Linked DNA regions of Homo sapiens: region 1 is linked to region 2. Evidence: promoter capture Hi-C in human tissues and cell types (Jung and others, 2019). All regions are on one chromosome and are shown on one strand. Each heading gives the region's core, a stretch centred on a gene start or on the middle of the fragment in contact. The rest is flanking DNA. Distances are from core to core; before and after follow the strand shown.

What was found. The method cuts DNA at HindIII sites, captures the fragments that hold promoters and counts their contacts. A contact is called where the count stands out against the background at its distance.
Region 1: a contact is called between a fragment that was not itself captured here and the fragment with the promoter of AHR in region 2, in 1 of the 25 tissues and cell types used here (small bowel).

Annotation. Positions count from the first base shown.
Region 1 is chr7:16,692,365-16,697,236 of GRCh38, reverse strand. BZW2 (basic leucine zipper and W2 domains 2) reads right to left here. Exons shown (of 12, transcript NM_014038.3): 8 at 2,233-2,403; 9 at 176-322. Among named protein-coding and RNA genes, the nearest start is that of BZW2, 49 kb to the right of the region's middle. The HindIII fragment of the contact is 9,548 bases long and covers 1-4,872 here.
Region 2 is chr7:17,297,094-17,302,198 of GRCh38, reverse strand. It overlaps AHR (aryl hydrocarbon receptor), which reads right to left and starts at 3,547. Exons shown (of 11, transcript NM_001621.5): 1 at 2,870-3,547. The coding sequence starts at 2,934. LOC101927609 (a long non-coding RNA gene) reads left to right here and starts at 2,879. Exons shown (of 12, transcript XR_007060234.1): 1 at 2,879-3,139. RefSeq lists silencers at 2,873-2,922, 2,963-3,072, 3,123-3,272. The HindIII fragment of the contact is 8,110 bases long and covers 611-5,105 here.

The DNA.
Region 1 (4,872 bases), core at 103-2,602, 600 kb after region 2:
GCGCCTGTAGTCCTAGCTACCTGGGAGGCTGAGGAGGGAGGGTGGCTTGAGCCCAGGAGTTCAAAGTTGCAGTGAGCGCAGATCGTGCCACTGCACTCTCAAACAAACAAACAAACAAACAAAAAAAGCTGCAGTTTGCCCTTGGCTGGGTCAGTTCCTTGCTAAGGGCTGTTACCTTCAGGTGCTTCAGAGCCTGCTCTGCAACAAGTTCTTCCTTCTTGTTCCACTCAACAGCGTTCATTATACATGTCCACAGAAGACCAATCACTGCTGTTTCTGGAAGATCATTCCTCTTCATTTCTTCTTTGACATAAAGCACCACCTACATTACATGGAAATGGGGTCAGAAAGTAACAGGCAGATGGAGGGCTCCCATCTCCCCGCTAGCTGCCCAGTCAATCAAGGTTTTGGGGCAGCTAAGAAACAATCTGCTTAGCTTCTCCTTTCCTTGTCTGCATTCTCAGACTGGAAGAGGGAGAAAAACTATAATGATTTGTTCTCAAAGCAAATTTATTTTTAGTCCCAAAATTAATAGGCTTAGCTCTGGCCAGGAGCTGCTGGATAATGTGGAGTAAGAGAGGATTTTTGTTTCCTCATAGAGAAACCCCTTTGAGTCTAGTAGAGTAGGGATACTTGAGCCAGTTTGACTTTTTGGAGATTTAAAGAAGGCAACAGCGTTGTGAACTTTTATCCCATCCCTAAACTTTAAAACCTCTTGATGGATACCATCTTGGGTTTGTACAGGTCCATTCTCCACAATTTATTCTTCAATGATTACTTTTGATGATCCTTATGCCCCATCTCAGTGAAAAGTTAATTTGTAAATAAATTGTAAGTGCAAAGGCAATTTTTAAATTTCATATACATCAATTCAGCAGTATTCAGCAACTTATTTTCTCCTTTGAATTATGTATAAATATGCAAATTTATACTCAACCCTGAGAGTATGGAATATAGGCTTGCCTAAAATTTATTTGAAAGGCTTTTTCCTTTTAAAATAAAATAATAAATAGAGGTTTGGGCCTCAGAAGTGATTGAAAGTCATCGTATATCTCCAGCATACTACTTTGTGAGTAGTAGTAACACCTTTTTTTTCCCTCCCTTTTCTTTTTTGCTGGAAACACATTGCTTTCTTGACTTCTGGCCTGGAGTGTAGAAATGCCAGCAGTGACTTGAGCAGCCTTCAAAAGCAGAAGGAGCCGGGCAGTCCCAGTCCCTGTGCTGGCTGGAGGAAGCCACATAAAAGTGTGACATCCTGGCATCTACAAGCATCACAAGGCTTTTTATGTTTGCTTCTTTTCCCCATGGAAAATAATGTACAAATTCTTGCTTGGAGAAATATGATTAAATATACTGCTATCCTTAATACCATGAGACTTAAGAATATTTGTCATTCCAACACCTCCACCTGCTGGATAGTATCAGTCCTACATTCTCCAGGCTTCAACCATGTGAGCTGCCAAGCAGGGCTTGGAGCATGGAAGGAGGTGTGGGTCAGGCATTTTAGAGCACGTGGAAAAAAAGAAAGGACGCTTTATATTAATTTTTAAATTGTTGCATGAAAGATTTTAAAACTTCAAATAGAAAGCTCTCTCCAGATACACTAAAAATAAAAAAAAGATATAGTCATTGCTTTGTGAACTATAGCATGTATATATAAACTATGTATATGCGTATTATAAAAAATATAGCTTTTACATTATAGGGAAACACAGCTCTTCCAAGTGTGAGTGGGATTAAACAAGTCACTGATCCAACTAGTCTTTTCCCATGACAGGAATTCAAACTTTTTTCAAATAAAAAGCCTGTTACATATTCATACAGAGTGATGAACAAAAAATCCAGTGTTAATTCCAAACACTAGACAAATGCTTAATCAGGTTAGATAACCTGCAACAAAATTTTAAAACTACCATATAATGGGCTATACTGATAGTGGATGGTCAAATCTCTTTGACAGATGAAATATTTTGAAAATCATAGCAGCCTGGTAAAATAAGTCAGTTGTGTGGAAATCACTATTAATTTCTGGACCATCCTAGAGTGTTAACAAAAATGGAGGATTCTAAATCAATACTTTGAAGCTGAGTTAATTTAAATGGTAGGAATAAGTGGACAAAGTTTACAGCAATAAGCATAGGACAGACTTGTTAAGGAAAGCCTTTGCTACACAGCCCATGTAATTCCTCTCATTCATGTGTATTGAGGTGATGTCTGCCCGTGGTCTCCCACCTCCTTGATCGGGCATTCCTGAGAAAGACGCTCCTGGAGCTCCTTCTGCAGTTCCTTCCTGGTGCCCAGGGACTGCTGGACTCGGAGGAAGTCGGAAAGCTCCTTAAGACCTGCGTCAGTGAAGTATTTAGCAAAATGATCCACACTCTGTCTGTTAACTGGAAAGAGTTCCTGAAAAAGGGAAAAAAGACTGCTATAAAACAAGCCATTCAAATTTCAGCAAGCATAAAGGACAAAAGTCTTCATTTCACTTAGAATATCTCACATTTGGAAGAAAAGAATAAAGACTGTTTTACAAAACAACAAATCTCTGGTATATTTACTGAGCTAAACATCTTCTGAAATCAGGCAGTTTCACAAAGAAAAAGAAAAAAAGGGTAAGCAATTGAGATAAACTTGGACCCTACTGTGGCAATACTGAGAGATGAGGCTTTTAAAGAGTTACTGGATTATAAGGGCTCTGCCCTCATGAATGGATTAATCCATTCATGGATTAGTGGGTTATGTTGGGAGGGGACCTGGTGGCTTTAAAAAAGAGGAGGGGAGACCTGAGCTAGCACACTCAGCCCCCTCGCCATGTGATACTCTGAGCCTTCCTGGGACACTGCAGAGTCCCCACCAGCAAGAAGGCCCTCACCAGATGCAGCCCCTTGACATGGGACTTAGCCTCCATAACTGTTAAGAAATAAGTTCCTTTTCTGTATAAATAACCCAGTTTCAGGTATTCTGTTATAAGTAATAGAAAAGGTCTAAGACACCTACCCTACCAACTCTAGTTTATTACATAATTCTGATGGAAATTTTCAAAAAGAGCAATATACCATAGCTGCTCTCATATTTTCACCTCATTTCCATTTTACCCTACACAGTTTGGCAGAATCTCAGTAACACTTAGTCATGATCTAATCCTGGGTGAGTTCAACTCCCATCTATGAAATTAAGATGATTTTCAAAGTTCTCACATTTTTCAGACTGCTGCAGGGTCTAAAAAATATATCCAAGCTTTTGTATTGGTTAGACTTGCATATATATGGCCAATGGCTATGTGGTTCCAGAAAGAGCCTCAGTAGATCTGCAATGGGTTTGCCACCACCTATAGGAACACAGCTGGAGGGCTCCTATGTCAGGATTCAAATTTCAATGTTCTATCATCCTATTAATTTCCCCTGTTGAGTCATATGTTTCAAAAATGTCAGAAGAGAGCTGGTGGGAGCAGCTATCAAACACGCATTCATAATAAAGCAAACATTTTATACCACACTGAAACTGCGTCACTGATATTTCCTCTACTGCTCCACATCTTCCAAATCTGCAGGGAAGGGAACTAATGTATTTTTATTGAGTTTCTTCTATGAATCAAAATGTACTGGCACTTTCCTCATAATAACTGTGTAAAGCAGACATTTTTCTAGACGGTAAACCAAGTTTCAACAAGGTTAAGCAGCTTGACCCAATTTATGCCACCAAAAATATTTAAGAACAGAGCTGTGTGCCCCCAAGTCAATACTTATTCCATTACTCTGTGCTAGCATTCAATATTCTATTTAGGAAGAGTGTGACTGCAAAGTTTGATTTAAAGTTATGTTCAGAGCAATATGCCATTAAACATATCACTCGTAGTTCACTTATGAACTACATTCCAAATTCTTATGAATAGTATATAATACATTGAAAATCATTATTCAGATTAAGTTGAGGGGAAGCCCGTCTAAATCATACCATGTCATTTTTTGACTTGGAACATGGTTTGTATTTTTTTAGAGAAACCATACCGTGGTACAAATCTGTATCATCTCATCCCTAGATTAAGGTCTCTCTGCTTTTGCTCTTGCTCCTGAGTCTATTCCCAAAGTGACAGCAAGAGTGATCCTGTTGAGAGTCAAAATCACATTACACACCATTCTGCAGAGAATTTCCAAAAGTTTTCTATCTTATTTGGAATACAAGCCAAAGCCCTAGATGATATGGGCCTTGCTACTTCTCTGAGCTTATCTACACTTTTGCTCTCACCTGCTCTCCCCTTGCGGTCCCCAATATCCCATGCCCCAAGGCCTTCCCATTTCCCATTCCCTTTGCCTGGAATGCTCTATGTGGAGATATTTAAACAGTTCACTCCACACCTCCCTCAAGTCTTTACACCAATGTCATCTTATCACAGAGGGCTTTCCACCACTGAAAGTTACAGCCCACATTTGGAAGCTCTTTAACTCTTTCCTACTTAATTTTGTTTTGTTTTGTTTTGAGACGGAGTCTTGCTCTGTCACCCAGGCCGGAGTGAAGTGGCGTGATCTTAGCTCACTGCAGCCTCCACCTCCCGGGTTCAAGCAATTCTCCTGCCTCAGCCTCCCGAGTAACTGAGATTACAGGTGTGCACCATCACGCCCGGCTAATTTTTTGTATTTTTAGTATAGACAAGGTTTCACCATGTTGGTCACGCTGGTCTTGAACTCCTGATCTCAAGATATCCACCTGCCTCAGCCTCCTGAGGTGCTGGGATTACAGGTGTGAGCTACCACACCTGGCCCCTACTTAATTTTTACCTTTATTATAATACATATTTTACGGTTTTTAGTTTATGGCCCACTCTCCTGAAATAGAATATAAGCTTCATGAAGGAAAGGGTCTGTTGGTTTGGTTCCT
Region 2 (5,105 bases), core at 2,298-4,797:
ACCTATTATTTGCCAACATTCAGTGCTAACTTTCTATGTACAGGTAAGCTGAAATCCATTACAACTTTTTCTTTATGATTAAAACCTTAAAAATACAAAAATATATACAAAATTATCACTAGGGAAAAACATTCTATTTAATTATATAATGGCCTTTTTGACTATCTTCATGAGACAAAATAAATAAACACTTTCATTTCCAAAGAGAATAAAATAAACACAGGATTTGTTCTCTTTTTCTGAGTAGGGTCACTAAGTATGGGGCAACAGTCTAAGCAAAGTTATAGTAGATTCTATAATGAAAGTTATCTTTGATATTTTCTTCTTGAAGGTAGGAACATGAATTGGACGTAAAGTTGCTTCAGAGCCTTTAATTTCCCAACCTTCATTACTCCAAAAAGAAAGGAAATATTTATTGAGAGTCTACTATGTTGGAGATACTTCAGTGGGATTAAATTGAACACATTTAAAATGTATTTCCTACTAATAAAGATAATTTTCAATGTGAGAGCCGCCACTAGGGGGGGTTGATTTTTCTTAATAAATTCAACTCAAGATTGAAAGAGCTTCAGGTTACAATTGTCACCTACTTTACTCCAAAATTTTATGGAATACTTATATTCCATAAAATTTATATTTAATTGGCTGTCTTTTTAAACAGTCCTATAATAATGCTACAGCATATTTTATCTGTAAATAAAATAAAATGGCTCTCATTTAAGAGGTCAAAGTTAAGTAGGTCTGGATAGCATTTTCAGCTCAAAACAAGATCTATTTTCCCCAATGTTGGCATGTTTTGGGGCTCATTAGGCCACAAACTGGTAGTTTAATTTTAAAACTCAAATTTAATACTAGGTTTAATGACTTCATTTCTAAAATAAACTTTGATTAACTGCATTATAAAGTTAACAATTTTTCATTCAGGTAAAAATAATTTATATAAACACTTTCACTTGATAATGAAAATGCCAGCACTAGCCTATTCTTACAGAGCAAGCTGGTAATATTTAAGGCATCTGTATGATTAGAAGCAATATACGGTGCTCAGCAGAGATCTGATAAACATCTATGCTAACAAAATGTGGGTGAATGGAAAAAATACTTTTGTTATATTATAAGAAATTAATACAAGTATATTAAAAACTAAGTAAGTATAATATTAGGATAATCTAATAAAAAGTACATTTTACGCAAAATAACCAAAATCCATAAATGTTAAACTGTGTAATGAATACAAAATTATGGCATTTGTTTTTGTTTACAAAGCCATCCAGGTCCTTTGATAACACCCTAACTGAAACCCAGTATCTTAAAAACACATCAGGGAGATCTTCATGTTTTCTCACCATACACATAAAACCCATGACACCCCTATTATATATGATGCTAAGTGTATTATTATATTAATAAACACATAGAACAGACATTTGGGATGCCTCCCAACTTTAACCATCAATGACAATGTCAAATAAGACAAACATACTTTAATATAAGAAACCATTCTACAAAATTAAAAGTATTAATAACCGATGTCTCAAACTGCCAAGGTAGAAAACTGCTGGTTTGACAATATTCCCTTAAGACACACTGTACCATAAAACTTCCAAATTTTCATCAGTCTATTTATAGATTATTATCCTCTGTTAATGCCAATTCATAAGTATACTTCTGAAGAACTATGATAACTGAAATTCTGAAAGGAAACTAAAATTTTAGAATGAAACTTTAAACCAATAACTGGTTTTAAATGTAAATCTTAAAGTGTTATTTTTCTGGTTCCCATTAGTGATAGTTGGAGTCTAAGCAAAATGCACACTTCTGATTTGGTCTGAGAAGACGTTTAAGAGTTCTTAAAATTGTTTACGAAAACTTGAAACACATGTAGGTAAAGTAACTCAGAGATCTAGAAATAAAAAAATTGGAATAAACACATGAATACAACCACCTCACAACAGGAAATGTTTTGAGCACGGATAGTTTTTTCTGACACACACAAAAAATTGGCCATCTCACACAAATATTCCACCAAAATCAACCGACAACGACAAAAGCAAGTTTGTACTCACTCAACTAGAAGAAAACTTTGAAGGGGAAAAGAATTAGAGGTAGATGTTAAGAATGAAAACCTCTCTCAAATGCAGTTCTAAATCTTTTATTTTACAGACCCTAAAGCCACCCCAAAAGTGATAAGCAAGCTTCCGAAAAAGATGTCTGAAGAATACAAATCCTCCACCGTATCCTGTCCGTTGCATCCACTCCCACCTGCTACCACTTCTATCCACTTTACCGATATGGTCACGATGAGCGCTACAAAATTGCTGCCAAATAAGTAAATATGAGCGCAACACAAAGCCAGTTGGTGGGGACCAAAAAGTACCTTTAGAGGCACTCAGCCCCTTCGTAAAAGTCAGCATGTGTTTAGCTCTTTAAAACATCTCGCCTTACCAAACTCTACGAAGAATGAGAATTAAGACCGTCCTCTAACCTAACCCATGCGGATATGAAAAGTGGAAGGAGATTTCAAGACAGGTTTATACTAACTAATCCATTAGCCCAAGGCAGATCAGAGCTGTCAACAAATCAGGACCAAATCAGAAAGAACAAAGTTGCAAATGTGAGAGGGTGTGTATGCACTGGTGCGGGGGAAGAGGATGGGTGGGAGGACAATTTTTAAAATGCAATCATTGAAAACGGGAGAATCCAAGTCCTCTGTCTCCCAGCCGGCCTCCAAACCTCGATTCCACGGGCAGTGCCGGGAATGGACCTAATCCCAGGATCGCAGGGATTTGGGGGCGGGGTGGGGCTGCCTCCCGCACCCGCGTGCCTGAGCGCCCAGCCCCCGCGATGAGGACGCGCTCGGGACACTCACGTTTTCTGCACCGGCTTCCGCCGCTTGCGACTGGCGTAGGTGATGTTGGCGCTGCTGCTGTTCATGGTGCCCAGCCGACGGCGGCGGCTACTCCCCGGGCACTGGCGGCCGGGTCCCCGGAACCCGGTGTAGGCTGGGACCACTGCGGCGGCCGGCGCCGGGTTCCGCGAAGCCGCGCCCGCTCCACCTGCGTCCTCTCGGGACAGTGGCGTGGGCGCCGCGCCTCAACGCCTCGGCTCACGCAGGCTTCCGCAGCCCGCGCCAGTACAGGTGAGCTGCCTGGGCCTGGCGCAGTGAGGGTGGGCGAGGGGCGGAGACCCGCGAGCAAGGCGGCGCAGGTGCCGTCTACACCGGCGGAGGCGGCGCGGCAATGCCCGCAGGTGAGGCGGCCCGGGCGGAGGAGGAGCCTGGGCCGTCTATTTAGAATCCTGGCCTGGGTCGCTCACGGTGGCGCCGCGCCCCGTGACCGTCGCCGCGGCCCCTTGGGTGAGGGAGGTGCCGCCGCGCTGCTCCCGGGACTTCCTAAATCCAGGGTGCTTCCCGCCTGCGGAGCTCGGGCGCGGGCCACCAGTCCCGGCTGCTCCCAGCTTCCGTTCGGCTACACGGCTGCCCCTGTTCTGAGCTGGCGGTCCGGGGCACGCTCTCGGAACAGAGCGTCGACGGGACTCCCCAGCCACTGCCTCCCGCCGCCGCGCGCACCGGCTGAATAGCAGGAGCACCCCCGACCCCTCACCGGCCCCGCCCCGCCCAGATCCCGCGTAGCCCCGCCCCGTCCTGCTTGCCCCCGCCCATCTGGATTCCATTCCGTCTTCCTTGAGGGCCCCACCCTCATCCCGGCACGTGATGACGTAGGACGTAAGGACGCCCCCCCCCGCCGGTAGCCATCTTCGTGCATAGGCAAACTTATTGTAGCTAGACTGTACAAAGTATATCAAGATATGCCAAATATTGAGCTTAACTTCACCTGTTTGAGAGACGGTGGGTCAGCTAACTTGTGGCTAAGAATTACAATTAACTGGTAGACAACTGGTAGACAACCAATGGGACTGTATATTTTCCTAGTTGGGAAGGCTTCAGAAGGCCAGATTTGAGTTGAGACTTGAAGGCTAGGAGTTTCCTTGACCTTTTTTGGTGTGCGGGGGAAGTCTTTACAATAGACAGGAATATAGATAATAAGGGGACTATTATGTATTGTGTCATGGAGGACCATGTGGAAAAATATTGGGAGTAATTAACAATATTGAATACTGTTGAGAAATTCAAATTAGTTGAGAACTGAAAATGTCATTCTTGTTTTCTCAATGTGTAGTCACTGATGACTTTCGTGAATGCAGTGTTGGGGTAATGGGCCTGCAAATAACATTGAAGTGGGTACAGGATTGAGCTGAAGATAACAAAATGGCATCCTCAAGCAGGCAATTTTTCTTCCAAGTTTAGCTGTGGATGAGAGACACATCAGATTGTATGTAGGGGGAGTGAAGGGTTAAATGAGGGTTTTCTAGTTTTGGTTTAGTTCTTTAATGGGCGATACTGAGCGGCTTAGAGGGGGTAGAGATAAACTATGTAGGGAACCTGAGGGAAGAGTGAAGGAATGATAGATATTAAGATACCGAAAGCAGGAGGGAATGAGTGCCAAAGCATAAATGGGAGATTAGGACTAATAGATTAGATACTAACAGAAACAGCACTTACAGTGCTTTGCTATTCAGAGTACTCCACAGCTTCTTTTGAGAGTTACAGGAAATGCAGACTCTTTGGGTGTCCTTATTAAATCAGAACCCGAAGTTCACAGGAACTCCCAGGTGATTCAAATGTACATAAAGTTGGAGGAGCAGTTCTCTACCATAGCTGGAGGAAAGAAGGACAGTGGGTGAGATATAGTAGGCTACTAAATTTTGGATCAGAAAAATGAAGGAGATGTAACAAAGAGGGTATTCTAGCATGAGCTACAAAAGAACAATTGTGTTTTGTGGTCGATGATCTTTGTTTTAATTTTAGAAGAGCATAAAGTGAAAGTGATCTGGGAAGTGACAACAAGGAAGTAGATGGACATCCACCCTGTATCCTGTGATAAGAGAAAATAATTAGGCAGTATTGGGGAGACCTTTAGGAAAGTGATAGCCTCAGTAAGCCACCTTTCAGTTTAAGGAAAAAGATGGAGCAAATTCCCAAAGAAGACAGTGTACACTGGGAAAGTTTGATGTTTATGAATTAGCAATTGCAGAGGCAGAATCAA